3 separate regions of the Homo sapiens genome follow, and all the other regions are linked to region 1. Evidence: promoter capture Hi-C in 16 types of primary human blood cells and fetal thymus (Javierre and others, 2016). All regions are on one chromosome and are shown on one strand. The core of a region is centred on a gene start or on the middle of the fragment in contact, and the rest is flanking DNA. Distances in the headings are between cores, read along the strand shown.

Evidence for each region. The method cuts DNA at HindIII sites, captures the fragments that hold promoters and counts their contacts. A CHiCAGO score of 5 or more calls a contact.
Region 2: a contact is called between a fragment that was not itself captured here and the fragment with the promoter of TSPAN18 in region 1, in 1 of 17 cell types (M0 macrophages). The highest score is 5.1, in M0 macrophages.
Region 3: a fragment that was not itself captured here is called in contact with the fragment with the promoter of TSPAN18 in region 1 in 1 of 17 cell types (naive CD4 T cells); the score reaches 5.4 in naive CD4 T cells.

What each region holds. Positions count from the first base shown.
Region 1 is chr11:44,724,452-44,728,770 of GRCh38, reverse strand. TSPAN18 (tetraspanin 18) reads right to left here and starts at 1,809. Exons shown (of 10, transcript NM_130783.5): 1 at 1,484-1,809. The region is part of intron 2 of TSPAN18-AS1 (TSPAN18 antisense RNA 1); the gene reads left to right. RefSeq lists enhancers at 1-307, 2,023-2,192, 1,559-2,420, 2,421-3,281 and silencers at 677-846, 1,683-1,832. The HindIII fragment of the contact is 6,014 bases long and covers 1-2,659 here.
Region 2 is chr11:45,297,840-45,302,097 of GRCh38, reverse strand. No RefSeq gene overlaps it. Among named protein-coding and RNA genes, the nearest start is that of SYT13, 14 kb to the right of the region's middle. RefSeq lists an enhancer at 2,863-3,407. The HindIII fragment of the contact is 5,523 bases long and covers 1-4,258 here.
Region 3 is chr11:45,343,859-45,347,856 of GRCh38, reverse strand. No RefSeq gene overlaps it. Among named protein-coding and RNA genes, the nearest start is that of LINC02696, 9.5 kb to the left of the region's middle. RefSeq lists an enhancer at 46-584. The HindIII fragment of the contact is 3,341 bases long and covers 327-3,667 here.

The DNA of each region.
Region 1 (4,319 bases), core at 560-3,059:
GCCAGCAGCCGTCGACTTCCCAAGGCACAGACACACAGACTCAACATACAGGGACCCTGAGGCCAGACAACTGGGACCCAGGGCAGATTTCCACCAATAATTGTGAAATGACCAGAAGAATGTGGCCTAGAGACCACAGACCCAGGGGATGAGGGTGGGGGCCAGGGCTCGTTGACTGCTGAGAAATTTAACACTTCTGCCTGGACTGCTGAAGTCTTTAAGGCCCCATCCCCCACCGCCCGCCCTGTGCCTCCCAGTTTACTTGTGCCCAGAGAGAGGATACCCCAAGACCCCCATCCTGCCTTCACCAGACAGGGATTCGACCAGATCCAGGAAACAAAGGTGCAACTTTTACAAAAAGGGTGCATGCATTTTGGGGTTTGGGTTTCTGCAACTCCAAAAACCGTCAAAAAGTTAATTCCCCAACCCACTCTCTCTGCACCAATTCGCAGTTGTAGTTTCTTACATCTTTTTCTGGGGGTAAATTTCTTACTCATCCATTTGCCCTGGCAGCCTTCCCGAGAAAAATCACATCCTGACTCCTAGCCTTTCCAGCCCACGGCGCAGTTATAACTGTGAACCTTTCGCCTCACTCTTGGTCCCGCTCCCCCGTCTGGCTAGTGTAGGGCGGGCTCCTCGGGGCGGGACCCCGCGTAAGTTGGGTGTCTGTGGTCCCTGCGTCCTGGATGTCGGCGCGGTTGCCTCGCAGGAGCCAGAACGCGCTTCCTGCTGGCGAGGGCCGGGGCAGTGCGCCCCCTGGCGGGAGCCCAGTCACCTCACTCCAGCAGGACCCGGAGCCGGCGCGATCCCACCCGAGCCGAGCACCGTCCCAACTGGCTCCCACTGCCCCCTAAATCTGGACGTGCCCGAGCCTCCCACCCACCCAGCACTCCATGGAGTCTCCACTTCCCCAAACCGCACACACCTAAGGAATAAGGGGGGTCCTGGAGGAACGAGTGGCGCCTCCGCCCCGCCCCGCCCCGCTGCCAGGGACCCCAAAGGCAGCCCGCCCTCCATGCAGCTGCCGGGCCCCACAGCCCTCCCGGCCCCGATCGCCGCTCCCAGTCCCTGGTCCCTCACTGTCTTACCGGGTGGCGTGGCGAGCAGCCCCTTTCCGGGCGCAGCCCTGGCCGAAACCCCGAACCTTGTAACCACACCTGCCACCCCGCGCCGTTCTCCAGAAGCCCCCACTCCTCCACCCGGAGCACTGGGAGCCCACCGGCTCTGCACCTGTCCTGGGCGCAGCCCCCGGCCCTCAGCGGACTCCGGGCAGGCACGGGGTGGAGACCGTCCCCGGCCCCCCAGCCCCCGCGTGCTAGTTTGAGTGGAACTTGGTTGCCGGGCTTCCGTCCTGGGATCCCTACTCCACCCCAATTCCCCGCCGCGTCCAGCAGCACCCCCGGGGCGGCGCGCGGGGGGGTCCCCAGGTCCCCGGGGGCGCGGCGGCGGCGTGCGGAGGGCACGGAGGTGCGGAGCCCCATACCTTCCAGCGGCGGCTGCCGGACCCCGCGCCAAATCCCGCCGGCGGCCGGGGGGAAACTTTCCTGGTCGGAGGGGCGCGCTCGCAACTTGCCCGGCGCCGGCTGCCTTCCCGGCGGTGGCGGCGCGTCCGGGGACCCGCAGCGCGAGGCGGCGGCGCTCGCTCGGGGCTCGGGGCCGGGACCGGGGCCGGGGCCGGGGCCGGGGCCGGGGCCGGGGCTGGGGCCGGGGCCGGGGCTGGGGCTCGGGCGGCCTCGCGCGGCTCCGCGGTGGATCGCTCGGCGCTACGTCCGCCCCGCAGCCTGGAGCCCCGCGACGCCGGCGGCAGCTGCACGCCCGCCAGCCCGCCGGCCCCACCTCCGCCGCCGTCCGTCCCTCCCCTCCCCCGCCCTCCCTCCCCCTCCCCAAACCTCCGCCCCTCCCGGCTCCAGACGCCGTTGCTGCCGAGAAGCGCGTCTCCTCTGCGGGCTGCCCCTCGCCTCCCGCCAGCCTCCGCCTCCTCCTCCAACCCCGCGTCCAGGCCTTGTCTGGGGGTCCCTGGGCCCACCCTCTGCCCATCTCCCCTTCCTCCGCCTCCGACCACCTCCCGCTCTGCTCGCGGGCCCTCTCTGCGTCTGAATTCGGAAGATCGTTGCGGGAGTGGGGAGAGGGGCATGCTGGACCCGAAGTGTTTATTCCAGGGGAACTTTCAGCTGACCCCGGGGCCCAAACGCAGGGGTTGGGGTGAGATCCTCGGTCCTGATCGGGCTCCTGGGCTTCCCGCTGCCGGGGGAAGTACCTGTTGAAAGCCTGGGGAACTCACCCTCCTCTGACTTGCAGATAAGAAAGGGGACTTCCTGCATGGAGGGGCCTGACCCCAGGTCAGATGCAAATGACTTGATTGCAAGGGGCCAGATCTGTGTCTCCGGCCTCAGGGCTGAGGTTCTTGCGGGGCTGGGGAGCTTATCTTTTCTTCTCTGTACTGCTGCCACAGCAGCACTGGCTCCCAACCCCTGACATGACTTGCCTGAGACTTTTAACCTCTGAGCCTCCTCTAAACAACTACCCGACCCTGCCCCAGACAAAACGGACAAGCAAGCAGATCAAAACTGACAGCCCAAGTGAAAGTACTGATGACAGGGGCTCGGGTCGCCCACTCCTCTTCCCTTGGCAACTCTGTTTTGAGTCCCAGCTTGAAGCTTCCACACCCCATCCCCGTGGGCCCTAGGCATTCAAGCACACATCAGCTCTGCAGGAGGCCCCTTGGCCAGCTGATTCTCACTAAGGGGTGACTGATAGGAAGGAGTTGACCCTACTCCTGTCTTGTATATGGATGTTGGTAGTCAGGCCACTGGGCAGAGTTTGGGGGGAGGGGGATCTTCTTGTTTTGTTTTTGTTTTGTTTTTGAGACAAGGTCTCGCTCTGCTGACCAGGCTGGACAAGCCTGGTCAACAAGCACAGCTCACTGTAGCCCGACCTCCTGCACGGCTTACTGTAGGCTCGACCTCCTGGGCTCAAGCAATCCAATCCTTCCAACTCAGCCCCCTCGAGTAGCTGGGACCAGAGGCATGTGCCATCATGCCTGGCTAATGTTTTCTGTTGTTTTTGGTGTGTGTGTGTGTGTGTGTGTGTGTGTGTGTGTGTGTGTGCGTGTGTGTTTTGTAGAGCTGGACTCTTACCATGTTGCCCAGGCTGGTCTCCAATTCCTGGCCTCAAGTGATCCTCCCACCTCAGTCTCCCAAAGTGCTGAGATGACAGACGTAGCCACTGCACCCAGCCACCAGCCAGAGTTTTGAGAGGCAGGAAGTGGCTGCCTTTCCTTGCCCACATTCCAGGAAATGGATTCGTCCCTGTAAGGGGATGTCCCTGTAAGGACTTCAGGGATGTCTGGTCCTTTAAAGAACTTCACCGCGTCACCGGGACTCTTAGAGTAGGCACGTGGCTGGAAGAAAAATCCCTGGATCCGCGGTTTCAAAGGGACCCAGAGTGAGCAAAGCTTCACCCAAGGGGAGGAAGTCCCTAATGGTGGAATTTCTATAAGAGGAGGACAAGGAGAAGGGCTCCACATTCACCCTTCAGCTGCCAAAACAGAATGGAGGGTGGAGGCTGAACACCCCACAGGCCCTGCACTTGTGGAATGCTGCTGGGAGAGGCCCCGTGTGAGCCTCCTTGGACACCAGGCGCCACATACATTTAAAGAGGAAAAACGGGAAGCCCACAGCAAGGGTGCTGGAGCTGGGGAAGTGGAGACCAGAGACAGGCAGAGAGAGGGATAGAGTCTCTAAGGGTCTGGGGCTTGGCAGAACGGGGCAGGCGCAGGGGAAGAGAGTGCAGACCCGCTGCACAACTTAGACAACCAGCTCGGTCCCTGACTCCAGTTCCAAGTCAGTTTCCTGGACCTCAGCCTCTCTCCAGCCTCCATGGAGGACCTGGCCCTATCTGTGCATTAGCTAAGGACATCTGCTGAATAGGCTTCTCTAAATCAACTCTTATTTTTTCATTCTTTTTTAATTTACTTAAGTGAGCTTGTTTTTAAAAAGATATGTTAAATTATTACCATAAATGGAAAGCCAGCATCACATTACTATAAATAGAAGGTAACCATCAAAATAAATACAATGAAAATAAGTGTTATTAAATTCTAACAATGTATCTTTAACCACAATAATAATAATACAGTCTAACAAGATACTGCTGCCTGAGGAGGTGTTGAAGCTGAGGTCCCACTTTCTCTTTGAAAGGAAGGTTACCAAAGGCTAGAAAGGTGTTAAAGACACATTAGCAACAAACTCTTCATCAAGAGCATTGATGAAAAGAGAATTGGGAAGGGACCCCCTCCACTCCCACTCCTCACCAGGTCA
Region 2 (4,258 bases), core at 442-2,941, 570 kb before region 1:
GCCAGGCACATCAGGCCTTTGGGACCACTGGCTCCCAGCCCAGACCCTTCGCCTTTCCTGGGGTACAGGGCTGCTGCTGCAGCCATTGCTCAGTGGCAAAGCCAGGCCTTTGGAGGCCCCAGGTGGGGAGCAGGTCAGAGGAACTACTGAGGCAAAAAGGAGGGGAGGAAAGAACTGTCCAGGAGGCCTTGGCTTCATGCTCATTAACCAGCTCCACAGGTGCTGCGAATGGAGCCTGGTGACCAGGGGGTGTTTACGGGCTGCTGCAGATGGTTATTTTATGGCTGGGGGTGCAGGCAGGAAATTGGGGTTTTATGGCTTACTAAACATCAATAACAATTAAGCTCAGTTAGAGACTCCACTGCCCTCCATAGGCCAAAGTACTAAACAAATATTAGGTAAGGAAGTCATCCATTTCACCTGCCTCCCAACGAAGTGTCTCCACCACACACTCTGACCTAAGTCCCTTCCTAATTGCAGGAGTGGCAAGGCCTAAGTTAGGTTCATTTGGTTTTGTTGGTTTTTGCTTTCCAAGGAAGTGAGGATTTAGTGATTCTTTTGCTTAGGAAAAAAAGATGAGGAAAGATATGCCCCACTAAAGGGGTTAAATAAAAGAATGGATTATTACAATATCAATTGTTTAAATTTTATAGGTATATAGGAAGGGATTTATTAGGGGAATTGGCTCATATGATTATGGAGACTGAGAAGACCCACGACAGGCCACTTGCAAGCTGGAGAACCAGGGAAGGCAGCAGGGTGGTTCTGTCCAAGACCAAAGGCCTCAGAACCAGGGAAGCCAATGGATGTGGGGCCAGAGTCAGGGAGTTGCTGGAATTTGCTGATGTGGACCTTCTTCTCAAAATTGCAGAAATGCTGGGACTGGGACATAGCATTTTCCAGGGCAGGGAATGATGACCTTAAAAAAGGAGATGCAAGGGAATTGCATTATTGGCCCTGAAATAAGAACTATTTTGTTGTCAACAGGCCCTCAAAGGATTTACTCTAAGTGCTTTGCAGCCCCCACCAAAATGACTCAAAATTGCTGATGACAAACTATCCTGGCTGAGTCAGGTACAAACAAAGTACCTGACTCCCAGATACCTGTGGTCCGGAGGGCTCCCATGGTCTCTGACTCCAAGAGACATTGAGGGGAGTATCCACTCTTGGCGGCTGCTGGCCGAGTTTTCTGATTGCTTTCCTGGAATGGTATGCCTGGTGTGTACTGCATGATCCTGCAATCCACCATCCAGCCCCCAGAGAGGCCCTGTATCCTGGATCTCACCCAGCCTTGGGACCCTCTCTCCAAGGTTCAGTGATTCTTCAGGGAGGGAAACAGATCCACAGACAAACCCTGTGCTCACCCAGCTCCATGGATGTCTCTACCTTCGAAGAATCTTGATTATCACTCATTCATGTCAATCACTCATTCATTCAGCAAGTATTTCTTGAGGACCAAGCACTCTGCTATGGTCAGGGGATACAGCAGTGAACAGAAGAATAATGGACACTGCTCTCGTGGGGCTTCTTTTCTAACCAGGGTAGACTTTCTTAACCTTGGCACTACTGACATTTGGGGGTGGATGATTCTGTGCTGGTTTGAAGACGCTGTCTTGTGCACTGTAGAATGTTTAGCAGCATCTCTGTCCTTCGCCAACTAGATGCCAGTGATAACTCCCCCTCTCTTAGTTTTGGCAATCAAAATTCTTTCCAGATGTTGTCAAATGTCCCCTGGAGAGCAGCATTATCCCTAGGTGAGAACCTCTGAACCAGGAGACACACGCATGCACGCACACACCCCTTAACATACAGTTAACAGGGAGCTCACTGAAGGGAGTGCCTTGGACAAGCTCTGGGCTCCTGTATTTACCATCAGGACCCCACCTAACTAGGGCCAATATTATTTTGTTGCCAGGCAAGTTAGATGACCTAACTTATTCCTTATAACATAGCTATTCCCTTCTGCCCCCCTCCCATAGTACAGATGAGGAAACTGAGACTTAAAAGAAATCCAGCAAATTGTCATTGCTATTAAGTGGAGTGGCTGGCATTGGAACCCAGGCAGTCGGAAGCCAGACTCAGCCCTATTAGCCAGGATGCACGCTATAACTCTGTAGGTGTGTTTGCCTCACCTGTGCCTCCAGAATGCCAATCAAGAAGATGTAATGAGATGCTTCATTGGGAAGCATGGGGAGCTATCTAGAGAGATATGCAATTTAAAGCTGAGCATCTCAAACAGGGGTGCTGGGCCTGCAACAGGAACCTTAGAAACAAACCTAGGACCAATTTTTGTTTTTCCTCCTTGTGTGACTTAAAACACTTTATTTCAGGGCTGATAAAATCTATGGTGGAAGCCGGGCGCGATGGCTCACGCCTGTAATCCCAGCACTTTGGGAGGCCGAGGCGGGTGGATCACGAAGTCAAGATATCAAGACCATCCTGGCCAACATGGTGAAACCCTGTCTCTATTAAAAATACAAAAATTAGAATTAAAAGGAATATTAAATAATGACAAGTGCTAAGGGTTTGAAAAAGTAAGGCGATGGGGAACAGGGAGTTATGGGGCAATGGGTGGAGAGCTGGTAATTTTACATAAAGGGCAAAGAAGGCCTCATAGGGAGAGGTAAAGGTCTGGGAGTCAGCCAGGCATGGTGGCTCATGCCTGTAATCCCAGCAGTTTGGGAGGCCAAGGTGGGTGGATCACCTGAGGTCAGGAGTTCAAGGTCAACCTGGCCAATATGGTGAAACCCTATCTCTACTATAAAAATACAAAATTAGCTGGGGGTTGTGGCAGGCGCCTGTAATCCCAGCTACTTGGGAGGCTGAGGCAGGAGAATCACTTGAACCGTGGAGGCAGAGGTTGCAGTGAGCCGAGATTGCACCACTGCACTCTAGCCTGGCGACAGAGCGAGAAGCTGTCTCGAAAAAAAATCTATGGTGGAGGAGAATACAAAATCAGACTCATTTTGTTAAAATGGTAAAACTACAGAGACTTGCAAGAAAGTGCATGTTCACCACTATCACTTCATGCCCTCAGGCCCTTACTAGATATGGTGGGAAAGGCGGAAAAACTCTGATTAACAACAACAATAACGAGTATTCATAGGCCCTTTCACATGCAATGGCTGCTGTTCTAAGCACTTTGCCTGTGTTAACTCAATCCTTACAAAAACCCTATGGGGTTAATTAAGGCAACTGGGGCCCCTAGAGGGGAAGTAACTTTGCCGAGGTCCCATGCGAGGCTTGTCTGCAGAGCCAGGGCTGGTTCAGGCTCACCTGCACACCACAGAGCCTCGGAGTTCAGTGGGGGGAGTTTCTGCAGGGCAGGTAGGTGTCGCTAGAAAGTTGGTTCCGGGGAAGCAAAAAAAGAACTCAAGGCCCTGCCCTCCTCTTGAGGCACAGCCAAATTATTGATGCTTCTCAAACTGTGCTCCATGGCCCATCCACACCAGCAGCATGTGGGAAGTTTGTTAAAAAACGTCGATTTCCCATCTTAATTTAAAGACAAAACAAAAAGCAAAAAAACCCCTCCTCATTTATTTATTAAAATAAGAAGTCTAACAGAGCCAAAGGCTTTTCTCCCTGATCATGTATGTGAGAGAGTCCAATAGTCCTGCCCTGATTTGACAGAGCATCTTACTATATATATCTATATCTATATATCTATCTATATATATATAATGAGACGGAGTTTTGCTCTTGTAGTCTGGGCTGGAGTGCAATGGCACGATCTTGGCTCACTGCAACCTCCTGGGTTCAAGTGATTCTCCTGCCTCAGCCTCCTGAGTAGCTGGGAGTAAAGGTGCCTGCCACCATGCCCAACTAATTTTTGTATTTTTAGTAGAGACGGGGTTTCACCACATTGGCCAGACTGGTCTTGAACTCCTGACCTCAGGTGATCTGCCTGCCTCAGCCTCCCAAAGTGTTGGGGTTACAGACGTGAGCCACCACGCCCATCCAATATTTATACTTTTTAAGAATACCAAGATGTCCTTTATAGCATTATTGCTAGGGAAATGGCTGGTCAGAATTGCAGGTTTTTCTTTGAGGGTTATTTTCCCAGGACATAGCAATAATCTCTAAAGTCTTAGGAATTTTATAAGACCCTTTCATTCAGATTATTTTCCTGCAGATAGATTTATATCAACAGAAGACAGAATAAACTAGCAACAGGGACATAAATATTGACACGTTTTGGTAATGGATGTATTGACTGTCTCAAAACTTAGTGGTTTACAACTATAATGTGTAATTACCT
Region 3 (3,998 bases), core at 748-3,247, 620 kb before region 1:
AGATGCCTGACAAGAATAACTCTTTACTCTTAGATTTAGGGCAGAGCATGATAACAAAGTCCTGAGCAAAGCTTTGCAAATGTTCAGTTTTCAGTGATGTAGTATAATTCTGCGGGGCATTTGTTACAAACACATTTTTTTCCAAAGAAAATTGTTTTATGGCTTAATGTGAAAGCAACTCTCCTAGCAGACTCTCGCCTGCCTCACCAAAGCCCCTTGCAGGGCCCCTCTGGTTCCCGACCTCAAAGAATGCCCTGCAGTTTGTGAGGAGCCCACGAGATCTGCTTTAAAAAGGTCAGGCACTATATTTTGTCATTTGTGAAGCTTACCATATTTGCAATCCTGCTCTCAGCCTCCCTGTGGCTCAATTAACTGCTGATGATACCTTCCAGTGTGGCAAGGCCCGAGGCCTTCTCTCTGCCTCATTATTTTATACATTTTGAAACGCTGGCTTTTTAAGTTAGAGATTAATTTTCCTGCACCGAGGGGGGTGTTAGTGGAAGGAAGCATGCTTTTACTTGGCAGGAAAAAAAAATCCTCCAACATGGTCATACCAATTTATACCATACTAGCGATATGTAAGAATTTCAGTTGTTTCATCTTTGTCAGCATTTGATATTTTTCCATCATTTTCATTTCAGCCATTATGTTTTAATTTGCATGTAATGTGTTTATTGGCCATTTGGACACCTTGTTTTCTAAAATGCCTGTTCAAATATTTCACACATTTTTCTATTGAGTTTTATTCCTTTTTTAAAAAATTGATTCACAGGAATTTGTTATATATCCTAAATATAAGTCCACTGTTTGGCTATATGAATTGCAAATATCTTTTCCAAATCTGTAGTTTGCTGTTTTACCCTATTAGTAGTGTCTTTTGATAGGCAAAAGAGCTAATTTTAATAAAGTCCAGTTTACTTATTTCCTTTGTGGGTGGTGCTACTGTTAAGATTTTTTTTTTTAAGAAGTTGGGTAGCCTCGCTGACGTTAAGATGCACTGGTGCAGTGTTTTCGCTGCTTAGCCTGTCCTGTGGAGGGCTTGTGTTCACACGCCAGGCCTGTGTACCCCTGGGAAGGCGCCATGCTTAGAGTAGCACCGTACAAGAAATATATGATGCAAGCCATGTGTGTTATTTAGATTTTTCTAGTAGCCACATTTACAAAAGCAAAAAGTAAAAGATGAAATTAATTTTGATAGTATATTTTATTTAACTAAATATATCTAGTACTCAGGCCATTTCAATGCTTAAAAATTCACTCTGCTCTTTGGGAGACCAAGGCAGGCGGATCATGAGGTCAAGAGATCAAGACCATCCTGGTCAACATGGTGAAACCCCATCTCTACCAAAAAATTAGCCGGGCGTGGTGGTGCGAGCCTGTAGTCACCGCTACTCAGGAGGCTGAAGCAGGGGAGGGGGGCTTGAACCTGGGAGGCGGAGATAGCAGTGAGCCGAGATCGTGCCACTGCACTCCAGCCTGGTGACAGAGGGAGACTCCATCTCAAACAAACAAACAAATTACTGTGCTTTGGTTTTGAAATGAGATTTAAATTTTAGTCACACTAGCCACGTACACATGGTAAGTAGTCACATCTCTCTGACTGTTATCATATTGGACAGTACAGGTTTAAAAGTTGACAATCAGCTCTGGAGGCAAATGACCTGGGTTCTAATATGGCTGTGTCCCTTTATAACAATAGCTAACACCTATGGACTGCTTCCTCCTTAGCAGGCTCTGTCCATAAGAAAATAAAGACACTGAGGGCCTCAGGCATACCAAGTACTGTGCATGATTTATATTATTTAATCCTTCCAAACCATGCGAGGTAGGTAATGTTCTTACCCCCAGTGGTGGTTAATTTTATGTGTCAATGTGGTAGGTTGTAGCACCCAGTTGCTAGGTCAAGCACCAGTCCAGATGTTGCTGGGAAGGTATTTTTTTAGGTGATTTTAGGTGATTAACATTTGAATCAGTAGACTTTGAGTAAAGTACATTACCCTCTTTAATGTGAGTAGGTCTCCTCCAATCAGTTGAAGGCCTTAAGAAAAAAGATTGAGGTCCCGCCAGGAGGACAGAACTCTGCCTCCAGACTGCCTTTGGACTCAAAACTGCAACAATCAACTTCTGCTGGAATTTCCAGACTGCCAGTCACCACTGCAAAGTTTGCATTTTCCAGCCCCCACCATTGCATGAACCAATTCCCTAACATAAAGTCTCTCTCTCTCCCACACTGCTTCCCCTCAGCGCCCCCACACCCACATCCTATTAGTTCTATTTCTCTAGAGAACACTGTCAAATATACTACCCATCCCAATTTCCCTCAATAGGGAAACTGAGGCAGCTTGGCTCCAGAGCTCATGCTTTTAACCTCTGTGCTGCCTCCAGCCATTTGGAAAACTCCTTAACTTATTTAGGTCTCAATTTTGTTATTGGCAAACTAAGATGAGTAGTGCCTACGCAATAGGTTTGTTGTGAGGACTGTTTGAGATGACATAAAGCACCTGGCATGTAGTAAGTACTCAATGCAAAGTATTGTTGCTTGTTGATGTTTTCCATCTTAAGACACTCAAAGCAGAACATATTACTGGTTATACTGTAGATATCAAAGAATTAAAGAGAAGGAAGGGCAAAGTTTAGAAAAGTCTATTGTATGAGATTCACTGATGATCTTTATCACAGGCACTTTAAATTTTTGCCATGCCCATGTCAATAAAAATGGCTATTTTTAAGTGAGTCCCTGCCATCTGCACAACATTTGAATTCCATCATCTCATGAAATCCTCACATGAATCCTACTGGGGAATCATCATTGTCATTTCCCAATTCCCAGTTTAAAGATGAGAAACTGAGGCCGCAAGTGAATCAGAAACTTATCCAGCTTCTAAATGACAATCTCTCAGGGAAATAATTTCCCAGTACCTTCATGTTGTCAAACCATCAGATTATTTCTTTTCTTTATTAATCCTTTACAAAGAGGCTTGTAAGTGAATTGAAATTAACATCAAGTCATTGTAGGGAAATTGAAAACTTAATCATTCCCGTATTCTCCTTCATTTTTATCTGCTGCTGGGTGCATACATTTGTAATTCAGCTTTGAAACTGTCATATAATCTTACAATTTTTTTTTCTTTTGCAATTTTGTGCAGGTAATCCTGAGGGGGATTTTTCATATATTGTAGATGATTAAAATTGAATGTAGCTTATAAAAAAATGAATTGTTAATGACTGAGAAAGCCTTGTGTTCTTTGAAAATATTTGTTGTTAAATGAAAAGAGACTTCAGAATGTCAATATATTTCCCTTTGTTTGTTTTCCCCCTCTTCCTACTTGTATTCTTCCCATACATTTTAAATTGGTGTAATCCACAGATTAATTTTTAGGTATTTCTTTGAGTTATGTTCATAAATGTCAGGTTTTATAGAAAGATTATTTTTTGCAAGTTTTAATACGTTTTTTTCTCCTTCATTCTCCTTTCTTTGATGTCAGGGATGAATAAATCCAGTTTAATATGACTTTCATTTGTGAGGCTTAACATAGAAACCATTGTAAGGCTAAACCAAACCTCCTTCTGTTTTTCAATGATTATCTTTCTCTGTCAAAATGAACCAAGCCCTCTAGTCTGAGGATTTGAAAGAAACAAGTCCTAAGAATAGTCAGAAATCAAAGCTTGCAGGGTGAGCTCAGATTGTAACTAAGTGTTCCTTTATCTTCACCCACACTTCTTTGAAGTGCTTTCCCTAAGCTGGTTACGTTGGATATTGAAGGGAGGGTGTGGATTCCCAAGTGGCAATTCCATCATGTTTATTGGGAGGTTGGATATTATGATAATTATTTTCTCCATGGTCTTTTACCTCTAAGCCATGGTACTTCTATGTACCCGACTTTTGCCTGGTATGGTTACATTGGGATGGTTTAAATAATTTAGACTCTAATTTATGTTGGAGTAGAAATGTTCATAAGTGGGCCATTAACACCTATATTTCAGTGAAAGTGCTGTGT